Regions from separate parts of the Homo sapiens genome. Here region 1 is linked to region 2. The links are contacts of gene promoters, found by promoter capture Hi-C in blood cells and fetal thymus (Javierre and others, 2016). All regions are on one chromosome and are shown on one strand. The core of a region is centred on a gene start or on the middle of the fragment in contact, and the rest is flanking DNA. Distances in the headings are between cores, read along the strand shown. Region 1 overlaps ATG5 (autophagy related 5). Region 2 holds the start of PREP (prolyl endopeptidase).

Evidence for each region. The method cuts DNA at HindIII sites, captures the fragments that hold promoters and counts their contacts. A CHiCAGO score of 5 or more calls a contact.
Region 1: a contact is called between a fragment that was not itself captured here and the fragment with the promoter of PREP in region 2, in 2 of 17 cell types (naive CD8 T cells and naive B cells). The highest score is 6.8, in naive CD8 T cells.

Annotation. Positions count from the first base shown.
Region 1 is chr6:106,192,222-106,198,416 of GRCh38, reverse strand. The region is part of intron 7 of ATG5 (autophagy related 5); the gene reads left to right. Among named protein-coding and RNA genes, the nearest start is that of PRDM1, 110 kb to the right of the region's middle. The HindIII fragment of the contact is 3,183 bases long and covers 285-3,467 here.
Region 2 is chr6:105,401,611-105,407,892 of GRCh38, reverse strand. It overlaps PREP (prolyl endopeptidase), which reads left to right and starts at 4,811. Exons shown (of 15, transcript NM_002726.5): 1 at 4,811-5,046. The coding sequence starts at 5,002. RefSeq lists a silencer at 4,534-5,103. The HindIII fragment of the contact is 7,847 bases long and covers 1-6,282 here.

The sequences.
Region 1 (6,195 bases), core at 627-3,126, 790 kb before region 2:
GTGTTCAGTTAAATAACTAAAACTTTTTTTCTTATAGGCAATACATTTACATATTTTAAAAATCAAAGCATATATAAAGGAATTTAGTAAAAAGTCTCTTTCCTAACTACCTGTTCACCAAACTCTAACCTGGTTCCCCTTTCTAGAGACAACCAGTGTTGCCATTTTCCTGTATATCTTTAGAGATAGTTAAGTAAACTTTTTATTTTTGAACTCAGGCTACAGAAATTTTGCCTTAGTAACTCATAACTTCTGAGAAATTCCCAGAAATTCAAGAATAAGCTTACTTTTTTAGTTCATTTTCTCTGTTATAAGGGTGTTTGTTTTTGATCTATTTAATATCTATTTTTGTTTTTGAGGATTTTGGAATATAGATGAGTTATTTTCATTTGAAGTGTAATGAAGAGGTTAATCGTTTTTATTGCTGATAGAGATAAACCCCATAAACCTCTTACCTGTCCGTGGCAGCACTGGCTTTCAGTTACTCATTTCTCTGTATTGTGTTTTTTTCCCTTTTTGAGTACTTTGTAGTAGTACTTTAAAGAACATTAAAAACTAGATGCTGTGTTAGTCTGTTTGTGTTGCTATAAAGAAACACCTGAGGTTGGGTAATTTATAAAGAAAAAAGGTTTATTTAACTCACAGCTCTACTGCCTGGAGATTGGGCATCTCATGAGACCCTCAGGCTGCTTCTGCTCATGGTGGAAGCTGAAGGGAAGTTGGTGTGTGCGGTGGTCACATGGTGAGAGAGGAAGCCAGAGAGAGCAGGGTGGTGCCAGGCTTTTTATAATAACCAGCTCTTGTGGGAACTAAAACAGTGAGAACTCACTCCTCCACACCCAGGGAGGGCATGAATCTATTCATGAGGGATCCACCCCCGCCCCCCCCACCCCAACCCAAATACCTCCCATTAGGCCCCATTTCCAACTTTGGTGATAAAATTTCAACACGAGGTTTGGCGGGGACAAGCAACCACACTATAACAAATGATTTTATCAATTAGGAGTAAATGAAATTTAAGCCAGAGTTTAATATTTGAATAACTACCTTTTTTGAAAACAAAAGGCAGGGTCTCACTGTGTTGCCCAGGCTGGTCTTACATTTCTCACTCAAGTGATACTCCCACTTTAGCTTCACAAAGTACTGAGATTATAGGCATGAGCTACTGCACCCAGCCTCAAATGACTACCTTATTGCACTTTTCCTAGATTTTTTTCGACAATCTACTTTTTAAAATATGTTGTTTTAAACTTCCTTTTTTATAACATCCTTGACTATAGAATGAGAACACTGCAATGAAACCCAAAACTTTGGAAGTAATGTGTTCTGTAATGATCTGTCCCCTAACAGCAGCACAATTGTCACAGACACAAAATGATCCATATTTGCTAGTCCCAAGTTTATATAAGTGGGGGGTCTCCCTTGATACATTTGTGTTTTATCTGTAAAAACTAAAGTTAACAGTTGCTTTTTAATCCAGGAAAGAGGGCTTACTTGAAATTTTATATTGTTTATTTTGTTAATGGATTCATTTGTTCAATTCATTTTTATTTCATGGTTGCCAATTTCTAGTTTGTGGGTGTGGTTAAGGAGTGCCTAGAGTGGGAAGAAATTAGTTGGGTGTTAATACTGTATTTTACTTCTTTAAAGAATTGTATAACTGTAGAACTTTCAATCTACTTTTTTTTTTTTTTGAGACTGATTCTCACTCTGTTGCTCAGGCTGGAGTGCAGTGATGCCATCTCAGCTCACTGCAACCCCTGCCTCCCAGGTTCAAGCAATCTTGTGCTTCGGTCACGCAAGTAGCTGGGATTACAGGCATGTGCCACCATGCCTGGCTAATTTTTGTATATTTGGTAGAGACGGGGTTTCACCATGTTGGCCAGGCTGGTCTTGAACTCCTGGCCTCAAGTGATTCACCCACCTTGGCCTCCCAAAGTTCACTCTCTTAATTTTTGCATGATTGTGCCAAACGTCTCTTAACCACTTAATTGCAGAAATAGGTTTAGAACACAGGTCTCCATCTCCTGGTGGTCTTTTGGTTTTTCCACTTTACTATGCTGCCATTTGTTTTTGTTTTCTTTCTTTTTAACTTTTTGGTTTAGTTTAAAATAACATTCTGAAATACTTGCTTTTTCCTTACTCTTTATTTTACTTTCACAAATCTTAGTCTTCAATTTGTGTTTAGTATCTAATCTGCCTACATGCTCTTCTCTCTTAATAATATTTCTGATATGATCTTAGGAACCTGAGTGTCTACTGTTTTTATTTTGTTTGTTTTGTTATTTTAGTGTTCCTATATATAATCCTGACCACTCTTGTTGAATTTTTTAAATGGTGATTATGAACATCAGACACGTAAATGAAAAGCATTCAAGTGCTTTGAACTGACACTCTCAGAATACACCTTTATTCTGCTCTTATACCCAGGTTACAAGACAAGATTAACGTGACCCTACACAAGAAAGGCACACAAATTTGTGAAGCTGTTCTTTTAAAAGAGATTCTTTGTTCTGTTAAATTTCTAGGCTGCTCTACGTGTACATCCTTTTCTAGGGGATACACAGTGTGACTTCCCTTGTGGTTTTTTTTTTTTTTTTTTTTTTTTAGAGGGGAGCAGTGAGGCAGCGCAGCCACACAACCTAATCCACAAACCTTCCTTTTAGGTGATTTCAGGTGCTGTAGGTGAGTACATCTGTGTGACAGACTTCTCCCCATGCAAACTGTCAAATGCTTCTCTTGACTGCAGAACACACACTTCATTGAAATGACATAGATAATGCCTATTCTTTTCAGGTATTTTTGATGGTATCTTTCATACCAGGAGGAAGCCACATCTCTAACACATCTCAGTATCTTTTCTTTAGAAAAAAACTTTTATCTTTGCTTCTTCTTTTTATTACGTATTAAAAAAAATTGTCATTTAAAAATCTATGTAGAGTATCCAAAACATCGAGTCACTGTTTCAGTAAAAAACTGTTTACTGCCTGGTTCAGTTCACCTGTAGTATTGTCAGATGTGTCAAACATGAAGCATTTTGACACACCTGCATTCAACTTAAGTTGAAAGCGAAAGACTTTAAGATTGGGTGTGTATGGATAAGAACTTGCTGTCATCACATGATGAAAAGAGAAAGTACTTCATAAAAGTTATGTGGCACCATTGTCTTCTACTCCCTACAAGTGATTCAGTGATGAAAGAATTTTGTCTGATTTCATCATATGAAAGTCAAATGTACTAGTATTTATGAATACGTGCTTTAGGTCATTGTTCTTGTGGAGTAACTAATGATGAGCTGCTGCTTGTGGAGTAACTAATGATGAGCTCTTTTGTGTGTTCCTTTCTTTTTTTGTAAATGGCTAAGGGAATTAGTCAAGTTGGAGGTAACAGGAAATGACCAAAGGTGAGCTCAGGTAAATTGTTTTTGTCGTTTCAGCTGTAGTTAAAATGACTCAGAGATCTAAGCTTCTGTGCCAGACCTGAGTGAAATATTTTTTTCTTTGTACATTAAAAATAACACATCAAGAACATTTATTTTTACCTTGGAGAATACAAAACACCTATAAGCTTTACCCAATTATACTTCATTTCCCAGTCTTCTAATGTAATGTATAACAACGTGGTAAGCTAGGCGGGTGGATCACCTGAGGTCAGGAGTTAGAGACCAGCCTGACCAACATGGTGAAACCCCGTCTCTACTAAAAGTACAAAATTAGCTAGGCGTGGTGGTGCATGCCTGTAATCCCAGCTACTTGGGAGGCTGAGGCAGGAGAATTGGTTGAACCCAGGAGCCAGAGGTTGCAGTGACCTGGAATGCGCCATTGCAGTCTAGCCTGGGCACCAAGAGTGAAACTCCATCTCAAAAAAAAAAGAAAAAGAAAAAGAAAAGAAAAAATGGTATATTCACATTTTTTTCTCCTTTGCTGTATATGATTAGATTATGTTAATAAAGTGAATTAGTTGACAAGATAAATTTTTTTCAGACATGAAGCAGTTAGAAAAAGAAACATATAAATCTCATGCTGACCGTATAAAGCAGATACTTTTAAGTATTTGGACAAAATTGAAGCTTGTTAGTATCTCGTGATTTGAGATAATATTTGAGCAATAATCACATTTGTCAGTGTGATGGCACTGCCCCCGGAAGAATAGGCACTCAGTTTGCAAACTCATGCCACAGGAATAAAAAAAACTCCAATTCCCAAACCTCATCAGATTGCGGGTTTTACAATTTCAGTAATTCTTTAGATATTCATTTAGAATTTGAATTAGAAGGAACTAGTATCTCTGTACCTTCACGCTATTTGATTTGGGCAATAATAATGCTGATTATTTTCATTCTCCACTACTGGAAATGATGACATTACTGGACTGACAGAAGATGCTTCTGGTTTCTCCTTCTGAATTATTGTTATCTTAATCTCAAGAAGTTAAATGAATTAACCTGACTGTTCCCAAAATGAGAAACACACACTTGCACAACTATTTCATCTTTAGCACTAGAAAACAAAATTCTCTTACCAAAATAATAGTATATGCAGACAGTTAAAAACAAGTTATCTTTTCATTGAAACAGGTACTATGGGGCTTCATTCTGACCATATGTAAACAGTACAATTATTGTCTATATTTTAAATAAAGCAAGTAAGTTGAGCTATTCTGTAGTTCATACTTGACAAATATTAATGGACCCTATTACACCCAACTAGAATTACTGGGTCATTTTATGAAAGCAGATAAAATAATATTGTTTTCAAAGTTTATTTATGTATTTATTAATGAACAAGGTTTAATTTTTAACTTTTACCACATTTTTATCTTATTGTCAGGAAGCTTTTAATCAGTTTTAAAATGGCCTTACAATCACTTAATTTAATACACTTTGCTTTTTATAATTACAACTGATCATATGGGATTTTTTATATTATTTAAATTTTAGTTTATGTCCTCCTTACTAAGAAATACAGAGATTATAAGCAAAAGTCAATGAAAGAATTAATATGGACATGTTTTTAAATTGTTTAAAATGTTAAGAGTCAAAGCTCTGAAAATATAATAAAGATATAAAATGTATACATGGAAAGAGATATGTGGTATATCTGGTATTTGGTATATACTATGATATTGCATGTTCATTAAGACCTGTACTGCTAAGTGAGTATGCATCCGGAAGAAGTTAATGTAAGTATTTTTAAATGGGTTTGTATTTTTCTGATAAACAGCACTCTCCTTCTGTTTGTGATCATAGGATAAAAGCCCTGTAAGCTTGTATATGTTCATTTTTACTGCTACATCATGTAGTGTGCTCTTAAGATTGAGATCTCATTCCCCAGGAAGCATTTCTGTCCAAGATTAATTGCCCTTTTAAAATCAGCGTTTGATGTATTTCTTTGGCTATATCCTGGCTTGGTTTAACCCTCTTTGACCTGACCTCGCTGACTATTACCTCCGTGGCTGAGACAAAATCCTTCAGCATGATGTATGCACTTCACATTTCAGCCTGTGGTTTTTCATGTCGATGGATTCAATTAGTTGGTGTTTTACTAATGAACATATCAGAGGTTAAAGAATTTGTCAGACAGAACAAAATTGTTCAGGCTAGTGGTAATCAGAAAGCTCGTCGCTCTATTTTTTAAAACTTCTAGGCAGTATTAAGTATTTTTCAGAAATTTTACCTTCAGTATTACACATTCCAAGATAGCAAATCAAGTCATTTTCTGCTGAATTATAAAATATAAATATGAAGCTACAAAGCTGAACACAATGGTTATATCATTTGATCTTAGACTTCTACTCCATATTTAAAGTATGAGCTTTTAAAAAATTAATTAAACTGAAATTTTCTTGTTAAAAACATGTATGAATTTCCCTTAAAGATACATCATCCATTTCTTTAAGCCTCCTTTAAATATTAATAGTAAGAAGGAAACTCAAGCATCTCACTAGAATCTCAAGTCACCTGTTTTTAAAGACATTTATAGATCATATTCCTTGTTGAAATTGGCTTAGTTGAATAAGACCTAAAACCCAGATTGGGATGAGAAAGGTAATTAGTAGCCATTAGTAATAGAAATCTTTAGAACTCAAATTTATCACACAGTGCAAGTTCTCAAATGATATACTTAAAATGTATAACATAAAGATTTTGAAAGGTTTTTTTTTTTTACCTGAATGTTTTCATCTTTTTTAAAAAAA
Region 2 (6,282 bases), core at 3,562-6,061:
CTTAGGTACTTTACATTGTCTTAAGGATTGGGGCAAATCCCTAAATCGGCTTGGCACTGGACTTTTTGAGTTTTACAGAACACTGACTCTCCACAGTGCAGGGGGTAATGGACTGAATAAAGACTAAAACTTCCCAGAACATATTACTTCGCAGAGGCTATAATGCTACATTGTGGTTTACAGATAAATGGTTAAACTATAAATGCCAAATAAGACCAGCAGAGTAAACTTTAATATAGGCTTAGTTCTTTCTAAATCAAGATAGCAGTGAGTACTGCATGAGAGAAGCAGCAGCAAATGGAAAGGCAATCTGGTTGCTACCCAGTTAACTCCAGAGAAAACTGGAGATACTGATCAGGGTGAAGAACCTGGAACATGTAGGTCAGATATCCTGCTTAGTTTACATTAATTAGAAAAGCACCAAGAGAGGCTGGGTGCAGTGGCTCACACCTATAATTCCAGCACTTTGGGAAGCTGAGGTGGGTAGATGACTTGAGGTCAGGAGTTCGAGACCAGCCTGGCCAATGTGGTGAAACCCTGTCTCTACTAAAAATACAAAAATTAGCTGGGCACACTGGTGGCACCTGTAGTCCCAGCTACTCGGGAGGCTGAGGCAGGAGAATCGCTTGAACTGGGAGGCAGAGGTTGCAGTGACCCAAGATTGCACCACTGCACTCCAGCCTGGGTGACAAAGCAAGACTCTGTCTCAAAAAAAAAAAAAAAAAAAAAAAAAAAAAAGCACCAAGAGGTAATATCGGTAATATCATTAATTATCCTAGAGTTTTACAAATTCCAATAGAACTTAAAATTTGTAACAATATCCTAAAGGCCACAAGATGAAATGTGGCTCCATGAAACTCTTTGCAGTTGTCCAACCCTGATTTTCTGCATGTTTTCATGTGCTTATCTGTCTCCATACTATCTTTTAGTACTTATCTTTACTTTTCTTGGTGTGAGCAAATCTGTGATGCTGTGTGTCCATCTTGCTATGTCTATCTCGCTTTCCCCCTTTCTTTTCCTTCCTAATCTCCTACCTCTCTAACTTTATACCCAATCATTTTGAACTGACACATTTTCTATTACATGTTGTATTTATTGAATAGTTTTAAGTTCTCAGTTCTCCATTTAAAACAGTGGATGAATAGATCATTTCATCTTTTTCTACTTAAATGAAACATTTTTCATGCAGGGGGCCACACCTGATTTTTCTCCTACAATCGGCCTAAGAAAAAATATTCCTCTCTCCTGATTTAAAAACATTCCTATCTTAGGAACTTCATTAGAAATGCTTTAAATAAGTTCCATGAACTGAAGTAGAAAAATACTTCAGATTCATTCTTGATTTACTTTCTCTGCCCACATTTTTAATCTGGATTGAACTCAGCCCTATCCTCTCATATTAGTGCTTAATTCAGCCAAGCATTAAACTGAGAAGGGGAAGAATGAGGTGGAGACCTAGATTTCACAGCTGTAATTCCAGACACTTCACATCTCCTTTTAACCATATGCCCATGTTGAGAGAAGGGTATTAGAAGGGAACAGTTATAGCTCCTGAAAAGGTCAGATCCATGCATTTAGTATGGACTACAGGCCCAACAATAGTCCCTAGAGCCAAATCTTCTCTTGTGAATGGTTTGAAAACAGAAGAAAATTATGGAGAAAGTCTTTTCAGTAGACAGACAATTACTGCCCAATCTTACCTGCATCTGTCCATAACGTTTGGACAATTCTCCCTCAGGATAATCTTATTCTTAATTCAGAGTTAGTTTTGAGGTTCCTGTATCTCCTGTTCCCACTCAGAATTAAAGAATCTTAGATTCTTTTGAAACCACCTAACCCAACTGTCTCAATTTCTAAATAAAAATATTGATGATATGATGGACTCATTCAAAGTTAGGAAACCAGTTAGTGACAGAGCCTGAAAGAGAATCTTACTCTTATCCTAGGTGCTATTTCACACTTCATGATGCCTTGCAAAGATTAGATATACAAGAATACATAAGAATTTCCATTAAAAGTCACACTGGAAAAAGCAACATAAATCTTTGGGGAAACATAGTGTGAAATGACTGCACTCCACCAATTAGTCAGTATGTTAGCTAGCTACCTGGAAACCAGAGTCAAATTAAAAGGTGGATTATCCAGGCAGCACTCAAAGCATCCATCTCTAAGGGGTGCTAACAAGACAGCACCCTTGTGTGAATTAGAAAAATATCCTTTACCCAGGAAGGTGCAGTCCCTTGAGAATAAGACACCCCTTCCTCCAGGTGAATGTGCCAGCACCTGTCTGCAGTGTGGCAAGTGGAGAGTGAGATGGATTTCAGTCCCCACTTCGCCCCTTGGGTGGGCATCCTTGTGCATTTACCAGAAATCCTCTCTTGGAGACCATATGTGGGTGGGGGTTGCTTTGATAAGCAACTTGAGGTGGGGTAGAGACAGCCAAGCAGCAGTAAATGATCACTAGCCTGCCTTCTTCAGAGGGTGACTCTTCTTAACTGAGTGGGGCACAAAGTTTGAGGTCAGAGGAGAGGCTGAAGGCTGCCCTGGAAGTCCTTCTATGTCTCTGCTCACCCTCATTCTCCCAAAGGCCTAGGGTTCTGAATTAGAGCATGAGTTATCACAGTGTAAATTCTACAATTCCCCTGAAAACAGTCTACAGTGTCAGAGGTCAAAGAGTGCTCTGGTATTTATTCTGGAGGTGGCACTTCCATTCTGAGATAGTTCAAATACTTCCTTTCTCTGCATTGTCTATGGAAAAAGTTGACTTTGCAGTCAACTTATGAATATGAATCTTGTATTGTCTTAGCTGTGTGATGACTTTGAACTCATTCCCTTAAAGCTGCTGAGATTCTTTTTCCTCATCTGTAAAATGGTCTTTGCTATAAGGATTAAAGGAGACAACACATTGGCAAACAAAAGTGCAACTAACGTGGTCAATAGGAGGGGAAAGGGTGCTCTCCCATCTTCCCTCCCACTCCATCTCACTCCAGATGCAGACAACCTACTGCTGGGAGCCTCTTGCACTGTCTGTGCCACTACAAACCTTTACCTCTCAGGGCCCAGAGGAACTGGGCACCAGAACGGCTGACTGAAAGGGAAGAGAGGATGATACCTAGGTTTGATTTGTCCTTTGGGTACCACAATTCCCACATTTTCTTTAGGTCCTGCTAAATTGAAGTTTTCCCTGCAAATGGGTGCCCTGTAGACTCTAGAGTATCTCTACTTATTTATGAGTAGGAAGGCCGTCAGAGTGGTTAAGAATGAGCATTGGTATTGGAGAGACCTAGGTTGGAATCCTGGCTCTACTTTTTCACTTTTTGTGAAGTCCTGGGCAAAAGTCAGCCCGTTTTCCTTAACTATAAAATAGGGACATTAGTTCTAGATAGTTTCCTGATACACTGAAAAAAACACTCCATAAGCATTAATATTATCATTAGGGGGTCTGCTGGGTCAAGTGCTCCTGGGTTGCTCTTTAAAAAATCCCTCACAGTGGCAGAAGGAGGAGACAATGCCTGCCAGTCCCTGCGTCAGGTGACAGCCAGGGAAGGCACGAGGTGGGAACTGGAATTGGGACTTCTGGGCTGTAGTGGGCTATGCCCCCGTGTTTGCACAAAGTTTGTTATCAATAGCGTGAGTTCTCCCAGAATTGAGGATTCTCAGATTGCCCCAGGAGGGGGTATCTGGGATCAGATGCAGAAAATGATTATGACACATCACTATGAACAGAAATGGTGAACTAAGGGTGAGGCATGGAATTGGGACCATATCACAAAAGAGACGGAGGACACAAGTTTATAATAGTTACCATATCCACTTAGATTCCGGAGGTGAAGGACTTTCTGGTCACACCTATTCTTTCTTCCAGGACTTTTTGGAAGCCAGGGATAGAAAACACACTGGGCACACACTATACCCCTGATGGCTGGGGCTATAAAGTCTCTTCTGGGTGGTCCAGGAAGCAAGACCAGAACACATACCGCTGCTGGCCCGAGGATGATGACATGTAACTATTAAATTTTCATGGGTTTGAGGTCAAGTATCTTGTCTATTATCTTTTCTTCCCATAAACAGTAGGTGCTCAATAAACAAGCATGACAGCAGGAGAGGAAATGAGGAAAAGGCAGGATAAATAAAATACCCCTGATGAGTTCCAGGCCTCTTAATCTTGGTTCTTTCTCAATCGGTAAATATCAAATAAGGGCTCAACCGTAGTCCTGCCAACACCTCCAAAGCATCTCCATAGTCCGGATGCTAAACCACCCAGTGTCCACCAGGGGTCCTGGGATGAAGGGAGACGTGTTTCTTTCACGGTCATCATGATCGATTACTTCTTCCCTTCAAGTCCAGAGTCGCAGGCAGTGGACATAAGGCCACCTCCAGCCCTCTGCTTCCAAGGCTGGGGAGAGGCAAGGTCTCCCTTCGCCGCCGTAACCAGCCCGGGAACAGGAAGGCTGGGGAAGGTGGGGGACTCCATCAGCAAGGAAACCCTGGGGCTTCACTCTCCTACAGGCGGTCCTGCGAGCGCGGCCAAAGAGAGGCAGGGCGCTAGGGAAGGCGCGGGGACCCGGCCTCGGTGGAAGGACTTGTCCCCGGCGCAGAGGACGGGCGGGCGGCCGGGCGTGGGCGAGCGCGTAGCCGGCGTGCTCCTCCGTGCGCCCGGGCGGCGCGGGCGCGGCCGGCGATCCTGCAGAGGGAGCTGTGCGCCGGCCTTAGCGCACGCTCGGTGCCGCCCGCTCCCTCTTGCCGCCGCCGCCGCCGCTGGGCCCGCCCGCCGGGGAGGGGCTCCCGGCCTCGCAGACAGCGGCTTCCTGCTTTCTGCACGTCCTCGCCGCCGCGCCGCCAGTCCGTTTGTGCTAGCTCTGGCCGTGAGCCGGCCGCCCGCTGCCGCCGGCCGCCCCGCAGCTGCCTGCGCCCCAGCCGCGCCTCGCGGCCAGCCCGGCTAGCTCAGGTCCGCTCCCGGAGCCCGCGCCCCTCCACGCTGCCCCCTGCCTGTCCCCGGCCATGCTGTCCCTTCAGTACCCCGACGTGTACCGCGACGAGACCGCCGTAAGTATCTCTGCCTCCGCCCAGAGGGCTCCCGGGCAAAGGTGCCCAGCCTGCCTGACCCGTGGCACCCGCAGCTCCTCTTCCTGTAGGCCTTCGACCCCCGCGTCCCTCCCCTCCCCCTCGGCCTTTGTTTGGGAGAATTGGGCCGGGGGCGCGGGGCTCCTCTGCAGCGCTGGGGTCCCGCGGGCGGTCACTCTGCTAGTGCTGGCGGCGGAGCCTGTGGGCAGCGCCGCCCGGCCGCTTCCTAGAATCAATGGGGTCAAGGGCAGACGCCCGGGTAGAATGGGTGTCTTCAGGGAGTGGGAAGACAGACGGTGTCACTGCTTTTTTGACTGGCGAAGCCTCTTGCTTAAATATGGTGGTAGGAGAAAGTGTCCGCTGGGGTGTGTGTGTGTGTTTGTGTGTGTGTGTGTGTGTGTGTGTGTGTGATGTCACATTTAAAAACGAAAACAAACTTTTAAAACTTACACTTTAAAGTCCTTAGAGTTGAAGCATATTCGTTCGATTTTAAAAGGTGTGTTGAGCGCCTACCCTGTCCCAGGTCGGATGAGGCGCACTGGGCCCTGGGGATGCCAGAGACCCGGACAGAAATGGGGAAGGCGGAGCAGTGACCCCATAGTGTGGCCGTGCTGATCCATGTTTTCTTAAACAAGAAAAGGAGTTGAGAGAGGGTGAGAGGAGGTCTTAGAAGGGAGAGGGGTTGACCTTTTTCAGAATGAGTAAGTTTTGTCTAGTGGCGGAGTTGACCACCATTTGCCTAAGCTGCAGATGAACTCAAGGTAACTGTTGAGATCCAGTAGGCGGAATTCTGGGCAGACACCTTTTTTGTGTAAACGTGAATTTGACGACTTAGGAACTGGATTGCATCCACATGTTGTGGCCGTGATTCTCTTACTAATAGCTACATTTCTCAGATTACTTAAAATATAATCAGAATAAGTATGTATTTGTGTGATACAGTTTTAATGTTTTTCTGTTTACTTTCCCAATTTATGCCAGAAAGTGTTTACTTTAAAGCACGTGCTACATTGGGGTAAAGGGTGCTGACGCTTCGGAGTAAAGGACATACTGTTTTAAATTAAGACTTCCAAGTGACACTGATGCATTCATTCATGGTTTCTTTGACCAGTGGCCATCTGGTAACCATGTTTTCTCAGTCTGCTCAGCTGCTTGCTTATTAAATTTACCCTAACAGCTCAAGAAGCTCTATTCCTGTGGTTTAAAGGTTGTTTCCTT